3 separate regions of the Homo sapiens genome follow, and all the other regions are linked to region 2. The links are contacts of gene promoters, found by promoter capture Hi-C in blood cells and fetal thymus (Javierre and others, 2016). All regions are on one chromosome and are shown on one strand. Each heading gives the region's core, a stretch centred on a gene start or on the middle of the fragment in contact. The rest is flanking DNA. Distances are from core to core; before and after follow the strand shown. Region 1 overlaps BUD13 (BUD13 spliceosome associated protein). Region 2 holds the start of SIK3 (SIK family kinase 3). Region 3 has its middle 53 kb from the start of BUD13.

Evidence for each region. The method cuts DNA at HindIII sites, captures the fragments that hold promoters and counts their contacts. A CHiCAGO score of 5 or more calls a contact.
Region 1: a contact is called between a fragment that was not itself captured here and the fragment with the promoter of SIK3 in region 2, in 16 of 17 cell types (naive CD8 T cells, total CD8 T cells, fetal thymus and 13 more). The highest score is 15.4, in naive CD8 T cells.
Region 3: a contact is called between a fragment that was not itself captured here and the fragment with the promoter of SIK3 in region 2, in 1 of 17 cell types (erythroblasts). The highest score is 5.9, in erythroblasts.

What each region holds. Positions count from the first base shown.
Region 1 is chr11:116,752,103-116,755,625 of GRCh38, reverse strand. The region is part of intron 9 of BUD13 (BUD13 spliceosome associated protein); the gene reads left to right. Among named protein-coding and RNA genes, the nearest start is that of BUD13, 19 kb to the left of the region's middle. The HindIII fragment of the contact is 4,243 bases long and covers 1-3,523 here.
Region 2 is chr11:117,096,494-117,099,928 of GRCh38, reverse strand. SIK3 (SIK family kinase 3) reads left to right here and starts at 1,501. Exons shown (of 25, transcript NM_001366686.3): 1 at 1,501-1,786. The coding sequence starts at 1,514. RefSeq lists silencers at 1,313-1,492, 1,573-1,622 and an enhancer at 2,944-2,993. The HindIII fragment of the contact is 6,059 bases long and covers 1-2,643 here.
Region 3 is chr11:116,718,346-116,721,613 of GRCh38, reverse strand. No RefSeq gene overlaps it. Among named protein-coding and RNA genes, the nearest start is that of BUD13, 53 kb to the left of the region's middle. The HindIII fragment of the contact is 1,835 bases long and covers 786-2,620 here.

The DNA of each region.
Region 1 (3,523 bases), core at 608-3,107, 340 kb after region 2:
TATAGAAAGAAAATTTAGCCTCACACATAGGTAGTTAGAAAGAGAAGGCATATTATATTTCTTAATGTTACACAAAAACTCAACAAGTGCTGGTTTCTTAAAGGTGAGCTATGTGGAACCTGAAACCAGATCAAAGAACTTTCCTTACTGTTATATTAATTTTTTTAATACTTTGAGTGGATCTTTTACCCATGCATGATTTTATAACATCATGCATTGGTCATTTGTAAAATATTGGTTTGCTGAGTTGTTCAGACCTTCCAAATGTTGACATATTTCCACTATACAATATCAGAAAATCACTTTTGTTAACATCACTTCCGGTCTTATCACAAAACTCTTTAAATAATGGGAAGTTAAAGAGTTCACAGTTTTTCAGAATTCTAATTTACACTTGAAAGTTTAAATGTTATCACTGGCATTTCCATTGCTTGAGCTATTTCCATTTAATAGCTTAATTTCTCTGCTGAGATTTCCCATCTGTTCATTATGAGATATTTTCCTCTTCTTGAAAATATTTGTGATATGTAATTGGTGCTTTGAAGTCCTTCCTGTCTGTTAATTGCAACATTGGATTCACCACAGGATTGGTTTCTATATTGGCAGCTTTTTCTTCAGTGTGTATTACATTTTCCTGTTTATTTACCTGTCTGGTCACTTTTTTAAATTGTTACTGGACATCATGAATGATATACTGTAGAGACTTTGAGTTCTGTTACACTGTATTGTCAGTTGTTTTCCTTCAGGTAAAGCTCACTTTGTACAATAGCTTTTTATAGATTCCATCAGATTTTGTACCTAGAGGGTCTTCCATCTTTGCATACAGTTTAATTTCTTACTTTACAATCTAGATGCTTTTTGTTTCTTTTCCTTGCCCTGTTGCATTAGCTAGCACTTCAGTGCAGATGTTGAATAGAAGTAGTGAGAGCAGACATCTTTGCTTTGTTCCTAATCTCAGGAAGAAAACATTTAGTTTTTACAACACATTTATTAAATGTGTTGTAGCTGTATAGGTTTTTTGTAGATATCCTTTATGGAGTTAAAGTTCCCTTCTATTCCTGTTTTGCTGAGAGTTTTGTTTTCAGGAATGTATGTTGGATTTTGTTCAAAATATTTTCTAATTATCCTTTTGGTTTATTCTTTGCTCCATGGGTTATTTAGGAGTGCATTAATTCCAAATATTTGGACTTTTCTAGATATCTTACTGCTATTTACTTATAATTTAATTCCATTTTGGTCAGATAATATACTGTAATATTTTGATCTTTTGAAATTTGTTGGCCAGGCACAGTGGCTCATGCCTGTAATCCCAACATTTTGGGAGCCCAAGGCAGACGGATTGCTTGAGCCTAGGAGTTTGAGACCAGCCTGGGCAACATGGCAAAACCCTGTCTCTACAAAAAAATACAAAAATTAGTCGGGCATGGTGGCACACGCCTATAGTCCCAGCTACTGTGGAGGCTGAGGTGGGAGGATCACTGAGCCCAGGGAGGTCGAGGCTGCAATGTGCTGTGATTGCACCACTGCACTCCAGCCTGGATGACAGAGTGAGACCATGTATCAAAAAACAATAATAAAAATGAAATTTGTTAAGGTGTGTTTTATGGCCCAGTGGATAGTCTATCTTCTGAATGTTTCCTTTGCACTTGAAGAGAACGTATATTCTGTAGCTATATAAGGTAGTGTTTTATAAAAGTCAGTGAGGTCAAGGTGTTTAGATCTTAGATCGCCTGTATTCTGGGTTTTTTGTGTTTGTATTTTTCTATCAGTTACTATCAATTGTGGATTTTTTGTTTTAGCTGGTTTATTTTGTTTTTCAACTCTAAAATTTCCATTTAATAGCTTACATTTCTCTGCTGAGATTTCCCATCTGTTCATTATGAGACATTTTCCTCTTCTTGAAAATATTTATGATATGTAATTAGTGCTTTGAAGTCCTGTCTGCTAATTGCAACATTGGATTCACCACAGGATTGGTTTCTATTGACAGCTTTTTCTTCAGTGTGTATTACATTTTCCTGTTTATTTACCTGTCTGGTCACTTTTTAAAATTGTTACTACGCATCATGAATGATACACTGTAGAGACTTTGAGTTCTGTTACACTGTATTCCTCTTAAGTGTGTTAGTTTTTATTCTAGCAGGTAGTTAACATAGCTGAACTCCAAACTGTCTCCTTTGCAGTGGACGGCAGCTACAATCTTTGCTCAGTTCTTTTAGTTTCTAGCTGCCATTTTTTTAATTGGCCTGATGGTATTTTCTCTGCACATGTGTCATTTAACAGTTAGCCAAGGATTTGACTAGGGTTTGTATGTAGATTTTGAGGTTCATCTCTTTTGTAGTTCCTTCTCTTCCAAGATTTCCCCCCTAATTTCCTAGCTGTTCTGCCCACTTTGCACTAATTCCTCAAGCCAGTAAGCCTGTGGCTTTCTGCCTTCATGAGCCATGCTGTTTGGGAAGTTGCCCTCCAGCAAATCTCTTTTCACATATAGACTTCATCCAGTTCATACTTACTTTTGGTCACTCTTCCACACCTTCAAATACCTATTTTTTTTGTTTTGTCTAGGTTTTATAGTTGCTAACTGAGGATAGGTTAGTCTGTTCGGGTTACTCTGCAATGTCTAGAATCTGTCTCCCCACCTTATATGGGCCTAAGGCGTTGTCTTCTGTCCCTCGGGGTGCCGTCAAAATCCAACAGCCAGGTGTGGTGGCGTGTGTCTGTAGTACCAGCTATTTGGGAGGCTGAGGCAGGAAGATCGCTTGAACCCAGGAGTTTAAGTCCAGGCTAGGCAACATAGTGAGACCCCAACTCCAGAATAAAAAAATTTAAGGCTCTTCTTTCTGATATTGGCAGATATCTATAAGTTGACTGTAGTTCCTCATCTTGGCAGATATCTTTAGGGTAGCTGTGGTTACAGGCTAGCTTACTAGTTCCGTTTGCAGTTCACTGTATGTAGGCTTTTTGGTAGAAGGAGGATTTTTCAGAACACTCATTTGCCATACATACAGCCAGAAGTAGATCTTTTTATAGCACAACCCTACAGATGTTCCCTGCTACCGAGTTTTTGTTTTTTGTTTTTTAATTTTTGGACCCAAAACTTAGAATTCTCCCTGACCTAGTTTTTTTTTACTAGTATTTAATTTGTCTTCATTTTTCTCAGTTGCTTTTTTCCACTTCTTGTTCTGATTTTATCCTAGATTTCTTCTCTTATTTCCCTTTGTCACCCTTGCTTTCTTTTTGTTATTCATCTTTCATCATCTTTTCTAGTTTTGTCTCTTTTCGGCCTGCTGCAAGGGAATATTTCCGGAACAGATATATAGTATCTGTTGGAAAAACCCATAAGATAATTACCCAGCCTCTCTTAATTGAAAGAGAAACGGGGCCGGGTGCGGTGGCTCATGCCTATAATCTCAGCACTTTGGGAGGCCGAGGCGGGCAGATCACGAGGTCAGGAGATTGAGACCATCCTGGCTAACATGGTGAAACCTCGTCTCTACTAAAAAAAATACAAAAAATTAGCTGG
Region 2 (3,435 bases), core at 252-2,751:
ATCTTTAGTTGCTAATAAGGGAGCCAATTAGTGTTAATTGTGTTGGCAGTTTGGAACAGCTACCAGGGAATAGATCCAAGACCATTGTGGGATGACCCCTCTGTCCCATCTTAAGTCCCAGCCATTACTCATGGTTGGATAGGGAATTGGAGCACCAGGAGGTGTTCTTTGGTCAGCGAGTAAACACGAGTTATCCTTCCACACATTTACAGTGCCCTGGGTGTCAGTTTTTAATACTGTGCATGCAGTGACCTCACAATACAGTTCTACCATTGAGAGAGACATAGATATGGATGGATCAGGACTAGTCCAAAGGAATACATTTTAACATTGGAATATTCACAATCTTCCCTCCTTTCCACCCAGCCTGCCAAAGACTATTTTGTTGACAGTCTGATTTCCTACCTGCAACCCTCACCTAAAGCAGCTAAGTTAATCTATTTAATAAAGGGAAGGGGAGAGAGGAGGAGGAAGCCTGGGAGCTATGAAGGATGCAGGTAATAGGCAAGGGAAGAAAAAGAGATATGAAATTGCTGGAGTTATTAACTTGATGACCCTCAATGTCCTCGGAGAGTCACTAGGAAGGATGGAATTTTTATTATTTACTTATTTATTTTGCTTAACCGACTGTTGTTTAAACACGACGTGGTTCATTGGACAATGCGCACCACTGCTTCATCAGGGTTATACAAGCAACAGAAATAGTATGTAGGCACTCTGACAGACATCCCTGTAGAATTGTTCAGAGATGGGGGTGGTAGGAAGGAAAATGACGTACCTTCTTTGGCTGTCACCCACCCAATGACTGGAATGCCTGTTTGGACTGGCTTGTCCGCCCTTGAACACGCAAATCCTAGTTTCCCCATTCTCCTATATTCGGTGACAATTAGGTTGACTGTGCAGGGTGAGCTGGATTTTGTAAGAGGAAGGAATTTTACCGAAGAATTCCCCTGCGTTGTTACCAACTTGGTTACAGTTGCTTCAAGAGTGTAGCTATTCCTGCATTTGTGGCCTCAAGGGCTAAAGTGGGACAACGCTGGTATTTTTGGTGATGAGGAAACACTTTTTTTTTGTTAAGGGAGGTTGGGTGATCGTTGAACTGGGACAGAGGTCACAGCAGAGGTCACATTGGCGATTCGAGCGGCGGTGGGGGGTTGGCTTTGGGTCGGGCATCCTGCGCCCCCCACTCGGGAAAGGTGGCGGAGACTTCGAGGTTGGGGGCCCATCGAAGGTTCCCACCGCCAGCTCCCGGAGGGGGGCACCCGGGAGCCAGCGCCTCAGGAACCGGGGCCCACGCGGGAAGGTCGAGCCCGCCGGTGAGGTCACGGTTGCCATGGCTCCGGGCAGTGACGCGCGTCGGCACGTGACCCGCGGTTGCCATGGAGCCGGGCGCCGGTCGGCGAAAGCGCCCCGCCTCCCCGAGTGACGTCCGCGGCCCCCCCTTTCCCGCCCCCCCTTGCCCCCTCCCCCGAGCCGGCTCCCCGCGGCCCCGGAGGTTTCACTGCACAACAAGATGGCGGCGGCGGCGGCGAGCGGAGCTGGCGGGGCTGCCGGGGCCGGGACTGGGGGAGCCGGGCCCGCGGGCCGCCTGCTGCCTCCGCCCGCGCCGGGGTCCCCAGCCGCCCCCGCTGCCGTGTCCCCTGCGGCCGGCCAGCCGCGTCCCCCAGCCCCGGCCTCCCGCGGACCCATGCCCGCCCGTATCGGCTACTACGAGATCGACCGCACCATCGGCAAGGGCAACTTCGCGGTGGTCAAGCGGGCCACGCACCTCGTCACCAAGGCCAAGGTACCGGCGCAGGGGCCAGGCGGCAGTCGGAGCGTGGCGGGGCCGGGAGAGGTCCGCGCCCCCCAGCCGGGGGGTCGGGGCGGCGAGCGCGGCGCGTGGTGGGAGCGTTGGGGGCCGGGAGGCGGGAGGGAGCCAGCCGCGGCGGGGCGGGCGCGGAGCTAGGGACACCTGGGACTCGAGACGGCGGAACTCCAAGCAGGGGGCCGAGGGCACAGAGCACCGGCGCCCAGGAGCCGGGCGCGGGGAGGGGTCCTCGGGGCTGAGGGCAGGCGGGTAAAGGGGATGATTGGAAAGAAGGGGTCGGAACTCCCCGAGGGCCGGGAGACTGTAAGCCCAGAAGACTCTGGAACCAGCAGCTAGGGAATCATAAGGGAATGAGGGCAGGGGCATATGAAATGTGGACCCGGAGGATGGGGAAAAACAAGGGTGAAGTGGCAGACCCGGGCTTGTAAGGGGACCCAGGACGGCTGGGGCACGGACTGGGAATGTGCACGTCTGCAGGGCGCTGGGAGGTCCCAGGATCCTGGTGCCTTAAGACAGAGACAGGAATCCGCATTTGATCATCTAAGACTGATAGATGGTGCGAAGGGGATCCCGAGGAGACACGATTAGTGGAGGAGGCAATGAGGAAAATGGGGAAATAAGGGGGAAATTGCTTTGCTTGTCCACAGGAAGGGGCCCAGGGAATGGGGGAGTGAGGTGGGGGTGGGGGCTGTCCCAGGTTTATGATGGCACTAGGTAGTCAGGGGTTAAACAATTTGGGAGAGCTGATTGCTGGTTATTTTTAGTTGTTGGAGGGTCGGGAATTGTGGGCTTTGTAGAACCCAGGGTGGGCTTTTACTGGTTGGGGGGAAGCTTGTGATTGAAGAACCCAGACACCGGGAGATTACACTCATCGAGCCCTTAGTTCTCAAAGGGATTTGAGGCGCTATAGGAGTGAAATTGGCCAAGGTCAATTAGGAAGCTATATATGTATGCATGTAAAATTCTTTGAGGAAATATGGTAGCACTTTCATGTAGCCTTCGTTGGGAGGACTGGAATCTAAGACATCAGGAGGAATCTTTTGGTTTTGGTGGAACCCGCAAAGCCCATTTTTACTCTAAAATTTTCTTTGCTCAATATCTTACTTGAATGAATACTTTTAATGTAGTCATTCATTATGTTTAGAACTGCAGCTTGTGTTTTCCCTCAGCCTGAGGAATGAAGAACCCTTACAGCTGCTGCCGCCTCCTACCAAAGCCACATCAATTCCCCTCACCTCCTCAGCCTAGCCTCTGGTTGTCATGACCTACCTTGTTTTTGCTTTTTTGGCAGTGGCTTGTTTTCTGAAGCCAGTGACTTATCTAGGCCTTCTCTCCTGATCACTTGCAACCTGAAGTTCCTTCCCCACCATCTTTCTGCCTGAGGCTACAAGGGGCCCTTCTTACCAGGGTGTCAGGGTGGGTGGCTGTGGCGAATTGATTGGTCAGTTTCACTTCCTCTGGAGGGCCCTCTTCAGCCTTTTTGTCCGTTTTTATCACAGGGCCTCCAGTCTGCAGGTCAGAGCTGAATGAGATACCAAAGTCCAGGGCTCCCTCAGACCCTGAGGGGAAGTCAGGGGAAGTCGATTGAGCCAAGACTTTGGTGTGCTCCTCACTTGCCACCCCAG
Region 3 (3,268 bases), core at 454-2,953, 380 kb after region 2:
TTTGAGTCAGTGGGCTGGGAAAGGCAGACCCACCCTTCATCTGGGTGGGCATCTAATCAGCATCTAATCAGCTGCCAGTGCAACTAGAATATAAGCAGGCAGAAAAATGTGAAAAGAGAGACTGGCCTAGCCCCCTGGCCTACATCTTTCTGCCGTGCTGGATGCTTCCTGCCCTCGAACACTGGACTCCATGTTCTTCAGTTTTGGAACTCGGACTGGCTCTCCTTGCTCCTCAGCCTTCAGATGGCCTATTGTGGGACCTTGTGATCATGTGAGTTAATATGTTAATACTCAAACTCTCCTTTATATATATATCTATTCCATTAGGTCTGTCCCTCTAGAGAACCCTGACTAATACACCCTCTAACCTCTAAGTGGCCACAGTATTGATGCAGCATCCACTGTGTACAGAATCTAGTTCTCATCAAGGATACCCACTAGGACCTTGCAGGGCACACCGCGGAAGGCTCTGCTTTGGAGGAGACATGGTGGGAAGCATGGTGGCAGCGCATGGCTTGAATACTAAGCACGTGGTGGAGCAGTAAGGCCATGTCCTGTGCTGAGGACCACAGTCGGGGGAAGGGACAGGGGTGTTGAGGCGATTTAAGTGGCAGAGCCTTATGCCCTTGAAATCCACATAGGTGTCAGGCCAGGTGGGAGGAATCATGTTAACAGGGCACCTGAAAGGGCAAAATTCACACTGAGTTACAGTGGATGAAACCTGAGCTGTCTTTCATGGCAGAGTGGAAGGTGGGAGGGGGTCTCCAGGCAGTGAAGCTCAAGCTTTCTAGGGAGGTTCCCTCTAGCTACAGATCCCTTTCCTGGAAAATGTGCAGGTGCGCCTCCAAACCCCAATGCAATGAGGCCTGCTTTGGGCTCCTGGGCCTGAGGTAGAGGATTCCTGCCCGGTCCGGGCAAAGACATGTGGGCTTTAGAAAAACCAGACAGGAAGAGAGGGCAACAGGGACAGTGGGAGCCAGATGGCCCGCCCAGGGTCTATGTGGGAAATCTGAGGGGGCCTCCTAGGAAGACAGAACCCTCTGTGGGAGAGGTTTTGTCTGGAGACGGAGGACTGATCCTGGGACTGCGAAGGTAAGCAGGCTGCTGCCTCAGAACACAGAGCCAAAGGGGAGAGGGCTCTGATGTGGCACTGGGGGCAGAGGTAGGAACAGAACCAGGCACGAAGAACTTCCATCCCTTAGGGTGGTGGGCGGGGTCAGGAGGTGGGGCAGGGAGGCTGCTGTGAGAAAATCACCAGACTTGGGTGTGAAAGGACCCATCACCTCCTCGAATTCAACCTTCAGAGGAATGTGTGTGAGAGCCGTCATGACTCCATGCTATCAATAAGGAGACTGGGCTTGGAGAAGTTGGGAGTGAGGGGCATGGAGGTGGAGGAAAGAAGGGAAGACGTTGCAGAGGCAGGTGCTTGTGGAAGGGCAAGTGCTGGGGCTTTGAACTGGCATCTGTGTGATTCCTAGTGCTGTGCTGCTCACACAGGGCCGTCGGTGCCAGCTCTTCCATGGGCACTTGCACTCTGGCTGTCGCTGTCTACCTTTACCTCACCAGTTGGCAGCCAGATTCTTCCAGACCAGTGATCAGAAAGGGCCTCTGTGTCTCTAGTCCCTGGTCACTAGGCTCTCGGGATCCTGCTCTTTTTATGGGAGCCGAGTTGGCAGGAGCTTGGCTTCTGACCAGCTGCTGGAAGAAGGATGAGAATCAGATCTTCAGAAGGGTGGACCTTTCTTGGTGGATTGTGTTCAAGAAATCAAAGAAGAGAGACAGTTTGAGTATTGCGAGCAGGCCCGATGGGGAGGCTGTGAACTGGGACTGGGTGCTGCTCTGTCACTCGCTGTCTGATTAGTCTTGGGTAAGTCACTTTTTCTCTCTGGTCCTTAGTTTCTTAATTTGTAAAATGGGATAATTTATCCTTCATCCACCTGCCTTTCTGTCCATCCATTATTCCATCTATCCATCCTTCCATCCATCCACCCACCCACCCAGCAACTATTTATTGAATGTCACCTCTATGCTGGGCACGGTATGTGGCACTGAGGATACACAGCGTGACAAGGTTGACATGATCCCTGCCCCTTGTGGATCTTAGATTGACCAAGGAAGAAAGACATTAAGTAATAATAACAATAATAATGATAATATAATGATAATGCCTGTCTTCTATGGCTGTTTGGGGACTAAACTAATGAGACAGTGTAGGAGAGGGGTTTTACAAGCACTTTCTTGCTAGGAGTTCTTATTATCAGAAGTCCTGCCCAAGCAGGAGCTAGAGAAGCCTTCAGCTCTTTAAGCCTATGACAATGTTTAGTCCAAACAAAGTCCATTCCCTCTCTATTATCCACCTCAGCTAACTCCTGGAGCTGCTTCTCCTTCCTCTTGCCCCCTGCCTCTAGCTTCCTGCTGTGTCTTCCCTGCAGGAGAGAAAGGAAACCTCAGTGATCAGTCACGTCCCTGCCCTGGCGGAGGGGCCGGATGGGGGAGCTGAGCTAACTGCTGCTAATTAGCACCACTGAACCTTGGCCAAGCTGGAGAGGCAGATAAAGGGAGGTGGCAGAACGGGGGTGGTACATGTATGGTCCTGTTGAGGGTGTCCTAGGCCCAAGCTTCTCTAGGACAGGCCCTGAGATAACCCCTCTTCCATGCCATCCCTTGGCTGTGCCCACCTAACATCACCCATGAACACACAGTGGAGAGGGTAGAGCTATATGGTAGTGGAGGAGGAAGCGGATGGCCCAGAAGAGAGGACCCTTCCAACTGCTGCCTTCCTTCTCCAGATTCAGGGGAGGTACTCTCCCCGCCTTCTTAGTATTCTCATCTCCAGATCTCAGTGTGGGCTGTTGCCTCTGTGGAATGCCCTACCTTCTTCATCACCACATTTCACCTGTCCTTCCAGACCAGAGAAGAAGCCTCCTCCACCAAATCTGCCCTATCCACTAGCTGGAAGCAATACCTTCTTTCCCTAAATGCCCACAGCGCTTGGTTCATGCCTTGCTTATGCATGTATCCCGCTCTCTTTTGCATCATGCATGTTGGGCATGGGTCTTTTCTCGCCACCATTCTTAGGGAGACCTCCACCTAAGTCCTCACTTCACACACACTGCCTTACACAGTGCCTGATACTTAGTAAGTGCTCAGTGAAGTGAATCCAGACAATGTAAGAGTGTCTCTGGGCCTCCTGGGTGTTCTCAGGCCAGTTTATGAAGGTGCATGGAGGTATATTCCCATTTTACAGATGAAGGAATTGAGGGTCAGG